Regions from separate parts of the Homo sapiens genome. Here all the other regions are linked to region 1. The links are contacts of gene promoters, found by promoter capture Hi-C in human tissues and cell types (Jung and others, 2019). All regions are on one chromosome and are shown on one strand. The core of a region is centred on a gene start or on the middle of the fragment in contact, and the rest is flanking DNA. Distances in the headings are between cores, read along the strand shown. Region 1 holds the start of FBXL22 (F-box and leucine rich repeat protein 22). Region 2 has its middle 12 kb from the start of HERC1. Region 3 overlaps CA12 (carbonic anhydrase 12).

Evidence for each region. Contacts are between HindIII fragments. The study calls those that stand out against the background at their distance.
Region 2: a contact is called between a fragment that was not itself captured here and the fragment with the promoter of FBXL22 in region 1, in 1 of the 25 tissues and cell types used here (H1 embryonic stem cells).
Region 3: a fragment that was not itself captured here is called in contact with the fragment with the promoter of FBXL22 in region 1 in 2 of the 25 tissues and cell types used here (H1 embryonic stem cells and IMR-90 fibroblasts).

What each region holds. Positions count from the first base shown.
Region 1 is chr15:63,594,627-63,598,946 of GRCh38, reverse strand. It overlaps FBXL22 (F-box and leucine rich repeat protein 22), which reads right to left and starts at 1,560. Exons shown (of 2, transcript NM_001367807.1): 1 at 1,202-1,560. The coding sequence starts at 1,554. USP3-AS1 (USP3 antisense RNA 1) reads left to right here. Exons shown (of 3, transcript NR_034080.1): 2 at 4,161-4,252. It overlaps USP3 (ubiquitin specific peptidase 3), which reads right to left. Exons shown (of 15, transcript NM_006537.4): 15 at 4,314-4,320. RefSeq lists an enhancer at 4,192-4,241. The HindIII fragment of the contact is 12,633 bases long and covers 1-4,320 here.
Region 2 is chr15:63,843,286-63,848,204 of GRCh38, reverse strand. No RefSeq gene overlaps it. Among named protein-coding and RNA genes, the nearest start is that of HERC1, 12 kb to the right of the region's middle. The HindIII fragment of the contact is 4,663 bases long and covers 507-4,919 here.
Region 3 is chr15:63,348,974-63,353,892 of GRCh38, reverse strand. All of the region lies in intron 2 of CA12 (carbonic anhydrase 12), which reads left to right. Among named protein-coding and RNA genes, the nearest start is that of CA12, 30 kb to the left of the region's middle. The HindIII fragment of the contact is 8,588 bases long and covers 1-4,919 here.

The DNA of each region.
Region 1 (4,320 bases), core at 311-2,810:
TTTGGGGCATTAAGCTCGGTTCTCTTACAGTAAGAATGGAACAACTTCAGGACATGTTGTGCCATTCGCCTCCCCCCAACCCCCACCCATGTCACTCTAGTCTAATTCCTGGGCCTTGTTAAGCCCATCAAAATAGCCTTGTCCAGTCGGGGCCCAACCCCAAGTCCATCTTCTGTTTTCTTCCTACCAGCTCAAAAGAAAGGTGGGGTCACTACGCTGTTTCCTTCCACTCCTGTCGTGCTGCCAGCAAATAGCAGCTATGAACTTGGGTGGCAGTAAACTGGCTGAGTCTAGTTTTCCATGAACAGCCAGGGCCAGTTTGTTATATGATCAAGGGGGTGTTTTTCCTCAAAGGCAGCACGGGACTGGCAGAAGCTCAGTGAGAGGCTGGTTGAATAGCTCTGTGTTCTTGCCTGGGCCGCTCTGCCCATGAGGCTGGGACCATGGAGGGAGCCTGGCCTGGTGGTTCAGTGTCTATGTCTGTGTCTGGGGTGGGGGTTAGCAGATAAACACAAGATGTATTTGGGACATACTTACACTAAAATATTATTCACTGTTTATCTGAAATTCATATTTAACTGGGCAGCCTATATATTTGCTAAAATCTGGCAACCCTAGACTGGGCAAATCATACCACCTCGTGGAGCATCAGTTTGCTAATTTGAAAAATTAGGCTAAGCCACCCTCCTTAGGAATACTGTGTAAATCAGTAATTCATCTACTCCTGGAGTCTGGTTTGGCTCAGCTGACCTGAGCACCCTGGCTTCTCCACCTCTGGCTCCCCACCCTCTCTTTCCTCCGTAGTTTCCCAGGCCTTGAGGGCTGCTTGCTAGGCCTAATGGAGGGGTGAGCTGATTGCTGCATCTGGAAGCCTTTTCCCAGAGCCTGACCTTGAAAATCCAGGCCCAGCTGGACCCACCCAGCACTTAATGACTACCAGTACGGAGGCCCCACTTCTTGGTGTTTGCATGAAGCAGCCCAGGACCTGTGAGGCTAAGAGGAGGATTAGCAATTGTTTCCCTCATGATTTTATTGTCTCCTGGGGACCCTGCTTTGGGCGGTCTGGATGTCTGCCTTGGGCCTAGTTTGAGGCGCCCCGAAGGTGGAGCCATCTTGGTCTCGTAATTTGCTCTTCCCTGCCCCCCAAGAGGGAAGCCAGAGCTAGCGGGGCCAGCACTGCTCAGGAGGCAAGGTGGCCTACCTGTCGCACACCCGGAGGAGGAAATCATTGACCAGGCTCTCGTGCCGGCTGCAGATGCTTCTCTGGAAGGCACTCTTGAGCCAGTCCTCAATGCTGCACACCTGCACGCGGCTGGAGTGCCAGCAGATGGAGAGGCTGCGGAGTGCCGGGCCCAGGAGGAAGTTGTCCTTCTGGAGTTCAGTGAGGGAACGGAAGTGCAGCAGGGACCAGAGTGCGGGGTCCTCAAACACGTCGTGGAGCTGGGAGCAGGTCCTGGCAAGGCTCTTCCTGCTGTCCTTGTCTAGGAAGGAGAAGAGGTGCAGCAGGCACTCCCGGTTGAGCTGGGTTATGTGCATGGTGAGCAGTGGCCACATGTGAGTGCAGCTGCAGCCGGGGGACGGCTGACCTGCCTCCTCTCCTCCTCCCCGACTCTGGGCCGGTGGACATATATGGTTGAGGAATGGTGTTTATTTTTGGCTAACAACTGGTGCTGAAGCTCTGCGGAGGGGTGAGGGAAGAAAAGCCAGGACCCAGACACATGTGCGGCAGTCTGTGGTTCGGCTTATGTTCAGAGGGATTGGAGGTCCTGGCAGAAAAGGAGCCTATTGAAGTTACTTTCCTTAAAAGGGATTTTTTTTTTCCCTTTAGCTGACAATGGTGTTTAGCAGTGAGCACTTTTGGCTTTTCCCAAGGCGTTTTCATTGGCAGTGGTGGCGGCCAGGCCAGCTCTGTCTGGCTTTGCAGTCTGTACTTAGGGGGAAGGAGTGTAATTGTAAATGTTAACTGTTTTGATTTTCTAGTACATCAGTGTGAATCTTTTGCTCCACCCTTACTAGGAAGAAACCTGTTGCGTGTGGAGAGCTAAGGGTGACGGTTGTGAGTTGTGAGCAGAGTCCATGGCTGCTGCCTCATTCCTGTTATTTTTGTGCCATAGAGTAATTGTCTCCAGGCTAGGCTGGTTGGCCTTCAAGCCCTGCTGCCTGCCACTAGGCAGGGGGATTTTCCTGGGCCTCCCCAACAGCTAGATTTTTACCCTGAGTTGTTTCATAAAAGAATTTTACTGAAGTAGCTGCTTTCCAAAGTTGTGTGTCTGTGTTTTATGTTTTATTGGTGCTTTGTTGTTGTTGTTGTTGTTTTTGTAGTTTTGGTCAAGCAGTACTTTCTGTGTTTTAAATTTAAATTTACTTGGCTTTACATTTTCTCACTGATAAGGCCTTGTACTATGTATAACCTGTACTTCCCAAAATGTCAGGATGGATGAGGTAGCTCTTAATGTGAAACTGCTTGAAACAATTTTAAGTTCAGTATTTTAGTCCATCTTTGCCTTTAAGTTGACCACACACCATCCATTCTATGAGTGCCCTCCGTTCCCTCTTGGAGAAGCCAGTGGGCCACCCCTGCCCTCTCTGACTCAACTCTAGGCAAGGTGCCTGGAGGTACTATCCGTGAAGCTCCCCCTTCCTGAGTACCCGAGGCTTCACGATATGGCAGACCCGTTTCCTCATGCTGCTTCACTCCCAAACCCAGGACCCAACCTTAACTCTCCTGCTTTGAATCCCAGTCGTTGTTTTTTGGTTTGCTTGGGGGATGCTGATATGGTGCAGCTGTATAGGCCACGTTCTGCCTAGGCAATAGTGAGAAGAGAATGGTTTTTCCTCTGCCAGCCCAGGGACCACCACCTCAGTGGTTACTTCTGTTTGTTCTCCCATTTGGAATAAGAGGGAATGGGAATCCTTGTGTTTTCCCATAGACACAAATGAAGCAGCCTATGCTGAACCCACTTCTGGAACTAAGGTTTGGTCAGGGCTGGTGCAGCTTTGCCTTTAAAGCAGAAGGCAGTCAAGCAAAGAAGGAAGTAGCCATTGTCAGTGGCTTTCCTGAGAAGCCAGCCTCAGCTGGTGCCCCTGTGCCTCCATTACTCCACCATGCCAAGATGAAGTACAGTAGGGGGTTCTCTTAAAAACAAACCAAGGAGGTCGAAAGGAAGCATTTCCCAAGGAAGGGGAGCAAGATACTGCTGCTATTTCAAGCTCATCAATGTAGTTCTGAATTATAGCTGACACCCTAATTTAGGCTCTGTCTAGGTGTACTTCTCCACTTAAAATGGATGCTGCAAAACCACAGGTGGTGTTATTAGAAAGCCACATTATCTCCACTTTCCCTCCCCAATCCTCCTCAAACCAATGCTTTTCAGAGGGTTTGACCCTTAGGAATAGGTGGTTCTTTCCACTTCTTGCAAGGCCAGAGTGGTACTTGTGCCTTCCACTGAGTAAGTGTCACTGTGCTTCAGCATGGCTTCCAAGTTGCACTACTGCAGCCCAGCTGGAATGGCAAAAGATTGGCAGGGAGAACATTTAGAGCATTGCCCCTCTGCTGTTCCTCCAGGTAGGCTGCAGGAAGCATCCTAGACTACCAGGGCCAGGGGGAATGTGCTCCTGCATGCTGCAGAGGGTCTGAGGCACAGCCAGGAGATGACGAAGCTCTGCCCCTTTGGGCTTGTCCAGAGCTATGCTGTTTGGCAGCAGTGACAGCAACCACGCAGCCTCTGACCAGCACAGCTGCCAAAAGAATGTGCCCTACGGAACAAGGATGCATAACAATTTGAGCTGCAGGCACCTGTGTCTTCAATTTTAGAAGACTGACAAGAACAGGCAAAGGATGACTGTGGAAACAGGGTTCTGTCTGCAGGAGGCATGGGGGCAGGGAAGTAGTCTATAGGAACTTACTGTAAACAGGATGTTTATTTAAAAGCACTTATTTGCCTGTTTTACCTTAAAAGATGACCAGTATCCTTTGCTCAGAGCCCCAAAACTAGTGCCTCAGGGTAGAGTCTAGCTCTAAAGGGGAAGGGAAGGGGCCTCATTTTTATAAGATCAATAGTCACAAGAGACTGAGGGTGATTTCACTGGGCAAGGCCGAGTGGGACCTCAGGCACCTGACTGCAGGCACTCATCTCCAGGCCATCACTTTGCCCATACAGGTCACTTCATCCTGGCCCAGGTACTGCAGCTCCAAATCGTGGGGATTCTGTAAGAGCTTGCTACCTGTTGACTGAGGAGGCCCACGAGTTGAGTAAGTACATCATCATTTATGTGGCTCTACTGAAAAAAGGTGTTCAGAAATAAGTCAAAAGGAAAGAG
Region 2 (4,919 bases), core at 1,589-4,088, 250 kb before region 1:
CGGCCAAAAGACACGCTTACATGGTGGCAGCAAGTGAGAATGAGAAAGATGCAAAAGCGGAAACCCCTGATAAAAGCATCAGATCTCATGAGACTTATTCACTACCATGAGAACTGTATGGGGGAAACCGCCCCCATGATTCAAATTATCTCCCACAGGTTCCCTCCCACAACATGTGGGAATCATGGGAGTACAATTCAAGATGAGATTTGGGTGGGGACACAGAGCCAAACCATATCATTCCACCCCTGGCCCCTCCAAATTTCATGTCTTCACATTTCAAAACCAATCATACCTTCCCAACAGTCCCCTAAAGTCTTAACTCATTTCAGCATTAACCAAAAAGTCCACATTCCCAAGTCCATCTGAGACAAGGCAAGTCCCTTCTGCCTATGAGCCTGTAAAATCAAAAGCAAGCTAGTTACTTCCTAGATACAATGAGGGTACAGGTATTGGGTAAACACAGCCATTCCAAATGGAGAAATTAGCCAAAACAAAGGGGTTACAGGGCCCATGCAAGTCCAAAATCCAGCAGGGCAGTCAAATTCTAAAGCTCCAAAGTGATCTCCTTTGACTCCATGTCTCACATCCAGGTTACACTGATGCAAGAGGTAGATTCCCATAGTCTTGGGCAGCTCCACCCCTGTGACTTTGCAGGGTATAGCTCCCCTCCTGGCTGCTTTCACAGGCTGGTGTTGAGTGTCTGCGGCTTTCCCAGGCACACGGTGCAAGCTGTCAGTGGATCTACCATTCTGGGGTCTGAAGGATGTTGGCCCTCTTCTTACAGCTCCACTAGGCAGTGCCCCAGTAGGGACTCTGTGTGGGGGCTCCGACCCCACACTTCCCTTGTGCACTGCCCTATCAGAGGTTCTCCATGAGGGCCCCGCCCCTGCAGCAAACCTCTACCTGGGCATCCAGGCATTTCCATACATCTTCTGAAATCTAGGTGGAGGTTTCCAAACCTCAATTCTTGACTTCTAGGCACTCACAGACTCAACATCATGTTGAAGCTGCCAAGGTTTGGGGCTTGCACCCTCTGAAACCATGGGCCGAGCTGTATCCTGCCCCCTTTTAGCAATAGCTAGAGTGGCTGGGACTCAGGGCACCAAGTCCCTTGGCTGCACACAGCATGGAGATCTTGGGGCTGGCACACAAAACCATTTTTTCCTCTTAGGCTTCTGAGTCTGTGATGGGAGGGGCTGCCGTGAAGATGCCATGGAGACATTTCCCCATTATCTTGGGGATTAACATTCGGCTCCTTGTTACTTATGCAAATTTCTGTAGCCAGCTTGAATTTCTCTTCAAAAAATGGGTTTTTCTTTTCTACTGCGTCATCAGGCTGCAAATTTTCTGAACTTTTATTCTGTTTTCCTTATAAGATGGAATGCCTTTAACAGCACCCAAGTCACCTCTTGAATGTTTTGCTGCTTAGAAATTTCTTCTACCAGATACCCTAAATCATCTCTCTCAAGTTCAAAGTTCCACAAATCTCTAGGGCAGGGGCAAAATGCTGCCCGTCTTTTTGCTAAAAACGTAAAGAGAGTTACCTTTGCTCCAGTTCCCAAAAAGTTTCTCATCTCCATCTGAGACCACCTCAGCCTGGACCTGATTGTTCATATCACTATCAGCATTTTTGTCAAAGCCACTCAACAAGTCTCTAGGAGATTCCAAACTTTCCCACATTTTCCTGTCTTCTTCCGAGCCCTCCAAACTGTTCTACCCTCTGCCTGATACCCAGTTTCAAAGTTACTTCCACATTTTTGGGTATCTTTTCAGCAACACCCCACTATACTCATACCAACTTACTGTATTAGTCTGCTTTCACATGGCTGATAAAGACATACCCAAGCCTGGGAAGAAAAAGAGGTTTAATTGGACTTTCAGTTCCACATGGCTGCAGAGGCCTCAGAATCATGGTGAGAGGTTAAAGGCACTTCTTACATGGCAGTGGCAAGAGAAAATGAGGAAGATGCAAAAACAAAAACTCCTTATAGAACCATCAGATCTCATGAGACTTATTCACTACCATGAGAACACTATGGGGGAAACCACCCCCACAATTCAAATTATCTCCCACCAGGTCCCTCCCATAACAAGTGGGAATTATGGGAGTATAATTCAAGGTGATATTTGGGTGGGGACACAGAACCAATTAGAGGGGAAACCATATTAGACGGGAAGATATGGGTTGAAAAAAGCTTAGGGACATATTAGCTTGGAGAGGAATGGGAAAGACTAAACCCTAGTTTAATAATGCACATTTGGGTGATTAATACAAAAATCAGGATATGAGGAGGGTTGCAATTGGGAAGGGGCTCATGGATGGAACTTCTGGGGTAGGTTGCAAGATATTCTATTTCTTGACCTGGTGGTGACAAGAATCTTCACTTTAGATGAGCTATGCATTTGTTTTGGGCGGGTTTGTTCATTTATTTATTTTTGAGACGGAGTCTCACTCTGTTGTGCAGGCTGGAGTGCAGTGCTGTGAACTTGGCTCACTGCAACCTCTGCCTCCTGGGTTCAAGCGATTCTCCTGCCTCAGCCTCCCGAGTAGCTGAGATTACAGGCACCCACCACCGCATCTGGCTAATTTTTGTATTTATCAGCAGCGTGAAAACAGACTAATACAGTAAATTGGTAATTTAGTAGAGACAAGGTTTCACCATGTTGGCCAGGCTGGTCTCGAACTCCTGACTTCAGGCAATCTGCCCACCTCGGCCTCCCAAAGTGCTGGGATTATAGGCATGGGCTACCACGGTCCTGTTTTGGGTGGGCTTTTAAAAAATTAGTTAATTAATTTTTTGATACAGGGGCTTGATCTGTCTTCCAGGCTGGAGTGCAGTGGCATGATCATGGCCCACTGCAGCTCGACCTACTGGGCTCAAGTGATCCTTCCACCTCAGCCTCCCAAGTAGCTGTCACTGGAGGCACATGCCACCATGTCTAGCTAATATTTTATTTTTTGTAGAGACAGGGTCTCACTATGTTGCCCAGGGTGGTCTTGAACTCCTGGGCTGAAGCAATCCTCCCACCTCCACCTCCTGAAGTCCTGGGATTACAGGTATGAGTCACTGTGCCCAGCTTGTTTTTTTTTTTTTTTGAAATTGTGTTTTATTTTATAGTTTTTTTAAAAATATTTTTATTATACTTTAAGTTCTAGGGTACGTGTGTACAACGTGCAGGTTTGTTACATATGTATACATGTGCCATGTTGGTGTGCTGCACCCATTAACTCGTCATTTACATTCGGTATATCTCCTAATGCTATCCGTCCCCCCTCCCCTCACCCCACAACAGGCCCTGGTGTGTGATGTTCCCCTTCCTGTGTCCAAGTGTTCTCATTGTTCAATTCCCACCTACGAGTGAGAAAATGCGGTGTTTGGTTTTTTGTCCTTGGGATAGTTTGCTGAGAATGATGGTTTCCAGCTTCATCCATGTCCCTACAAAGGACGTGAACTCATCATTTTTTATGGCTGCATAGTATTCCATGGTGTATATGTGACACATTTTCTTAATCCAGTCTATCATTGTTGGACATTTGGGTTGGTTCCAAGAATTCTTTTTTTTTTTTTTTTTGAGACAGAGTCTCGCTCTGTCGCCCAGGCTGGAGTGCAGTGGCGTGATCTCGGCTCACTGCAAGCTCTGCCTCCCAGGTTCATGCCATTCTCCTGCCTCAGCCTCCCAAGTACCTGGGACTACAGGCGCCTGCCACCACGCCTGGCTAATTTTTCGTATTTTTAGTAGAGACGGGGTTTCACCTTGTTAGCCAAGATGGTCTCGATCTCCTAACCTCGTGATCCGCCCGCCTCGGCCTCCCAAAGTGCTGGGATTACAGGCGTGAGCCACTGCGCCCAGCAAAAAAAAGAATTCTAATGACAACATAAGCCTAGAGCTGCTAGGTGCCATGATCCTTCTCTATGCAGAGAGAGAGAGAGCTGCTAGGGAATGAAGCCATTCCAAAGGAATGCAGTGCCTAGAGATATAGTATGAGACATAAAGTCCATGATGATCTTTGATTATCGGCATCCAGCCATTTCTGAAGCTGGATATATCATGGAATTTCCAGTGATGTGAACCAGTAATGTTCCCCCTTTGCAACCAAGAGAGTCCATCTACATATCTGTAGATCCTCACAAGGCTAGTGAATGTTTCTCAAGGAACTGCTGGTTTTGCTGGGTTTTTGGTGATCGCTTTAACTGTCTGCAGTAACTCACATTCACCACCACACACAGGCAAACCTGTTCGTCTTCATTCTCTCAGTGCTCTTGAAAGCTTTATTCCATATTTCCCAATGATGGGGGTCATTGTCATTCACTGAGGCTTGGTTCTTTCTGACCTTTTTGGAGGGTCAGCAGGGCTCACTAAGAGAGGGGATAGGAAGCGGTGTTTTGCTAAAGATGAATACAAATCCTGTCACCTGGAACAATTGGCGCATGTGCTGGGTTAGTCTGAGGCCCAGGGAAAATAAAGTGCAGTTGTGTATTTCAGATATCATTGATTCATTATATATTTATTGATTTCCAGGCACTGAACAAGACAGCCCCAGGTTCAGCTCTCAGGGAACTCACAGCTGGCTGTGTGTGTGTGTGTACGTTTGTGAAGATCTACATGGTACAAAATGGTGAACTCTCAGAGGCCTACTTCTCTGTAAACAGCTTTGATTTTATCCATGTCCCTTTTCCAGGTTCTGAAATTTCCATCTTTTGAATTATTTCTTAATATTGTTCAATACTCCCAGGAAGTCCAACTTAGAATGCAAAAACGTGTGAACTAGAGGGAAGGGCACATCAATTCTTTACAATGCAATGTCACTATGGTGAAGAGTAGAACAGGACAGATACATTTTGATGAGAAGATAGTCCTTGGGGAAAGTCTCCAGACCTGGGCAGCCAGGAGGTGGTGTGTAAGGGGGATGAACA
Region 3 (4,919 bases), core at 1,585-4,084, 250 kb after region 1:
GGACCTATAAATATATTTTAAACATGTTTTTAAAATGTAGCTTCTAGGCTGGGTGCAGTGGCTCACATCTATAATCCCAGCACTTTGGGAGGCTGAGGCAGGAGGATCATTTCAGCCCAGGAGTCTGAGACCAGCCTGGGCAATATAGCAAGACCCCATCTCTTTAAAAAAATGGCTTTTACATGCAGACACCATCCTGAGGATGTCTGGTTTCCAGATGGATTTAGAGGGGACATGAAGTCTGCGGTCCCCTCTGAGTCCTGTGGCTTAGCTGTGTTCTCTGTGGCTCTAGCCACAAGAGCGGGACTGTTGGATGACCCCCAGAGAGAGGCAGGTACTAGCCTCCCAACAGGAAGACCTTTCTAACAGATGGAGGAATGTACACAAGCAGGTGTCAAATGATCCTAGCTCAGCCTTGGCACAGGGCAGGACCCAGACCTGGCAAAGGGAGGCCGGATGGATCCCAGACTCTTTCTGAGTCAATGCATCACACATCCCTAGAATATACCAGCCTCTCCACTGCAGCGGGGCCTCTGAGCTTGCTGGGCCCTCTCTAGTGAACGCCATTCCTCACGTTTCACTCATGGTTGGTTCTACTTGTCCTTTAAATCTCAGCTTTAACGGCGCCTCCTCTGGGAAGCCTGCCTGCATCATCTGCTTGACAGGGATCCCTCCATTTTTCTGTTGCAGCCCTCGTTTAATTCCTTTGCAGCGCTCATTGCAGATTGCAATTATTTCCTTGTGCATTGGTTTACTTGTTATTTATTATCAGTCTCTTACACTGGTCTGTGAGTGCCGCAAGGTCAGAGACTAGAGCTGTTTTGTTCTCCATTGCATCTTCAGCACCTAGTACAGTGCCTGACACATACTAGACACATTTGTTGAAGAAATGAATGCATTAACTCCAAAATTAAATTGCACTCCAAGAAGGAGAGCATTTAGAGATTTTTCTCCTTCATTCAACATTTGAGTACTCGTTTTTTATTGCAAATACAATCCATCTTATTAAATGTGTATTCAAATTTGGTACATAATTTTTGATCATTTTCATATAGATACACATGCCTTTCATTATGGTCAGACCTCCTTACAAAACAAACTTTGAGGGACTAACCAAAAGCTATCATTGTCCTGAAATTGTGCCTATTTGTTGAAAAAGGGCGTGTCATCATCTAGAATGTGTAAACTTTGCCACTACAGTGGTATCCTTTGGGGCAAGTTTTGATCTGACTGCGTGTTGGTAGCCGGCCCAAAGAGATGTACCCTGGAGCTTGGGCCCAGGCAGGTTCTCCAGGAAGCTGCCTGCAGTGAGCACTGACACAGACACAGGGGGGTCCACCTCAGAGTATGACCTCCAAGAAGTGTCATGGGGCAGAATTAATGTTGACTCTGGTGCCTGGATCCCCCCACTGTCTTCTCATGGCTACCTTTCATCAGTGAGCCCCTCTTTCTTCTGTCTCCAACCTTCCTTCTCTGGTCTCTTTTGCCGTCTGCATAGCAGTTTGCTCAAGCCTCTTCATAAAAAACAAAAACACAGGCTGGGTGCGGTGGCTCGCGCCTGTATTCCCAGCACTTTGGGAGGCCAAGGCAGGTGGATCGCTTTAGGTCAGGAGTCTGAGACCAGCCTGGCCAACATGGCGAAACCCCATGTCGACTAAAAATATAAAAAATTAGCTGGGCGTGGAGGCACGCACCTGTAATCCCAGCTACTTGGGAGGCTGAGGCAGAAGAATTGCTTGAACCTGGGAGGCGGAGGTTGCAGTGAGCTGAGATTGCACCACTGCACTCCAGCCTTGGTGACAGAGCAAGACTCAGTCTCAAAAACAAAAACAGAAACAAAAAACAAAATCTTTCACATTACCCTCACCTTACCATAACCACCACGCATACACCCTTCTCTCATCCCTTTATGGCTAAATTTCTGAAATGAGCTTAAAAAAACCCTCCACATCCATTCAAGGATGTGTTCAGACATAAGTAGGGATATGACATAAAGTTCTGGTCTTCCAAAGGTCTTTGAAACTCATATTCTGAGCTCTAGTCTGTAATAAGTTTCTGTACTAGTCTGGCTCTAACAGTCACAGGTGAGGCAGGCTAACAATCATCACTGCTTGCTAGTGTGCACAACCCGAGTAGGCTGGCCGAGAAGTTCAAGTCAGGGACTAGAAAGCACTGGGGTAGCTTTGGCAGGACCTGAGCTGGACTTTGAAGAGTGGACGAAATTTGGAAAGGTGCAGAGGAAAGAAGAGGGCATTTGAGCAGATTTTTTCATAACGGCATTTGTGAAGGTGGGTTGGCATAGCCTGTTCTTAGGCTCAGGGAGCTGGCTGAAGCATGGGGCAGGCTGGGGCGGGATGTGGGGGCCTTTGAAGACTTTGACAGGTTGGGGCACTTCAAGGCCATGAAAAACAGCTAGGCTGTGCTTTGTCTTGTTGGGGTGGGGCAGGGCATGCTAGGGAGAAAGGGAGTGTACGGATGGGTGGTGGGGTGGTGCCACCCAAGCCAGGCTATGACAAGATTGATCTGGTTACTGCAGGAGAGCCAGCCTGGCAGTGTAACAAGGAAGGCTGGGGCTGGTTGCCTGTGGGAAGCCTTTGCAGTGTGACATGGCGAGGGCCTAACCCATGGAAGCATGGGAGTCCATGACCCACTAAGGGCAAAGGATAGACCAAGCTGGCTCTGAGATGTTGAGCCTTGGAGGAGCGGGGCCCAGGTGTTCTCTGATGAGGCATTCCACCATCAAGCTGTAATCTAGGCCATAACACATCCTCTAATTGCAATATTGCAAAAAATATATGGACTGTATGTGAACCCTGAAATTTACAAACTGTTAAAAATTTATGACCTATTTGGAAAAATTTGAATTCTAATTGGATTCGGTAATCTTAAGGTATTAATTCTTAACTCTCTAGGTGTGGTCATGGTACTGTGGTTTTAAGAGCCCTTATGTTTTAGAGAAACATATGAAATATATACAGATGAAATATATCTGGATTTGTTTCCAGTTATCCAGGTAGATAAGGGGAGAATGGGCTTAGCATAGATGAGGCAGGACTGTTTCTGAATTGTAAACTGTCCAAGCTGGGTGACATGGGGTTCATTCCACTCCTCTCTCTACATTGTATACATTTGAAATTTTCTGTAAAAACATTCTGGTCCTTGGATAATGCAGGTCCTACACCCTGGGCCTCAAAATTCCCAATCAGAAATCACGAGAGGCATTTTGAGCTGTGCCATGTTAATCTCTTGTTACCTTTCGAAACAGGAATTCTGACCACTTCTGTTTTGCCTAGAGCAGGAAAAACACATAGACAGGAAAGAAATAATGCCTTGGCTTTATTTAGAAAAACAAACTGTGAAAGACACGTGATCCTCCTGTATCACGATCATGGGAGGAGTCCAACCAACTGGAGAGGCGAAGTCAAAACTCAGAAGAGCAAAGGCAAAGTTTTAGCTGGAAATAAATGCTTCTTTTAGGAGAGTCACTCCCAGTGGAGGATTTCTGGCAGTGGAGCACTTGGCATGAGTGTGAAAGCTGACACTGAGTTGGAAAATGGTAGCCCAGGGTGTAGCGGCCAGCATAAGGCCAGCACTGTGCAGTCACATGTCACAGCTCAGGGAACAGAAAGGCCTGCTGTTGTCACCTCTGATATTGGTTGTCCCGGTGCCCACCCTCATGGCACCTCTATCTCTCACATGCCACAAAGACAGGAGGCTGCTCTGACAGTGTCCCCAGCTATGCAAGGCGGGGACACCCACTAGCCATTACATGCTGGGGGAGGGCCCTATGAACTTCCTTGGCAGGCCGTCTCCCAGGCTACAGGGCAGAAATCAGATTTCTTTTTCAATTAGTGCCCCCAAACAGAAACCATTTGCACACAGGTAAGCTAGAAAGCTAGGAGGGTACATTTTGAACCTGAGCAAGTGATCTCATTTTTCCTCCTCTTTTTTGAGGAGAAGAAATACATGAGGGAATTAAGGTGGGTGCACGTTCCCTGGGAAAGGAACAAGCATGAAACAGGTGTTGAGAGTTCAGCTTAGTAAACATGTGAGGGCCCACTCTGTGCCAGGCACTGTGGGAAGTGCAGCGATGGATGAGCCGTGGTCCTTGTCTTCAAGGACAGCGTGGGGAAGCCAGGAAATTCCAGGTGCACAAAATCTCCTGGATAAATACTGAAGGACACATAAGTCCTGTGACCCAAGCAAAGTAACTGTTACTTAGCCAAAGTCAAACTTCCGGCAAATCTCTTAAATCTCTATTTTTCACCCATAAAATGGTGCAATTCTGCCTTGCTTACCCCGTAAGGTTATAGAGTTATAAGGATCAAAGCTACTACAATATAATAACAATGAGGAGGAGGAGGAGGAGGCGAAGACAAGGCTTTCTTGACCTTGCTGACCTACAGACCTGTGACTGGTGCCCAAGGACGAACTCCGCTGTGGATGGCAGCCAGGACCAGGGCAGGTTCCTGATGCAGATGGCTGTCTGATCCCAGCCAGTCCTGGAGCACCGGTGCCCTGTGCCCTCATTCCCGAAGCTGGTTCCCCTGGGCACCTTGTCACATGCCCAGTAGCTGCCTTGACATGAGCAACCTTTCTGACTCATTCAAATTTGCCTGACAGATGGAGAAGGTGCTTAGTCCTAGTATTCTTAATAAATATCAGAGCTTAAGAGCCAGAAGGAACCTTCCAGAACATAGCTTCCACACACATCCCATCCCCACCACTACGCCCACCACCCCCACCATTTGCACGAAGGGCAATGGAGGCTCCAGCAGGGAACATAACCCACTGAAGTGTTGGGACAGCTGATGCTGGAATCTCATTCTCTGGACTCCCCTGGTCCAACATAGCTGCTTCTCTTTCCAAGACAGGTTTTGCCAACACCAACTCTACTGCCTTTAATATCCTTAGTCTTT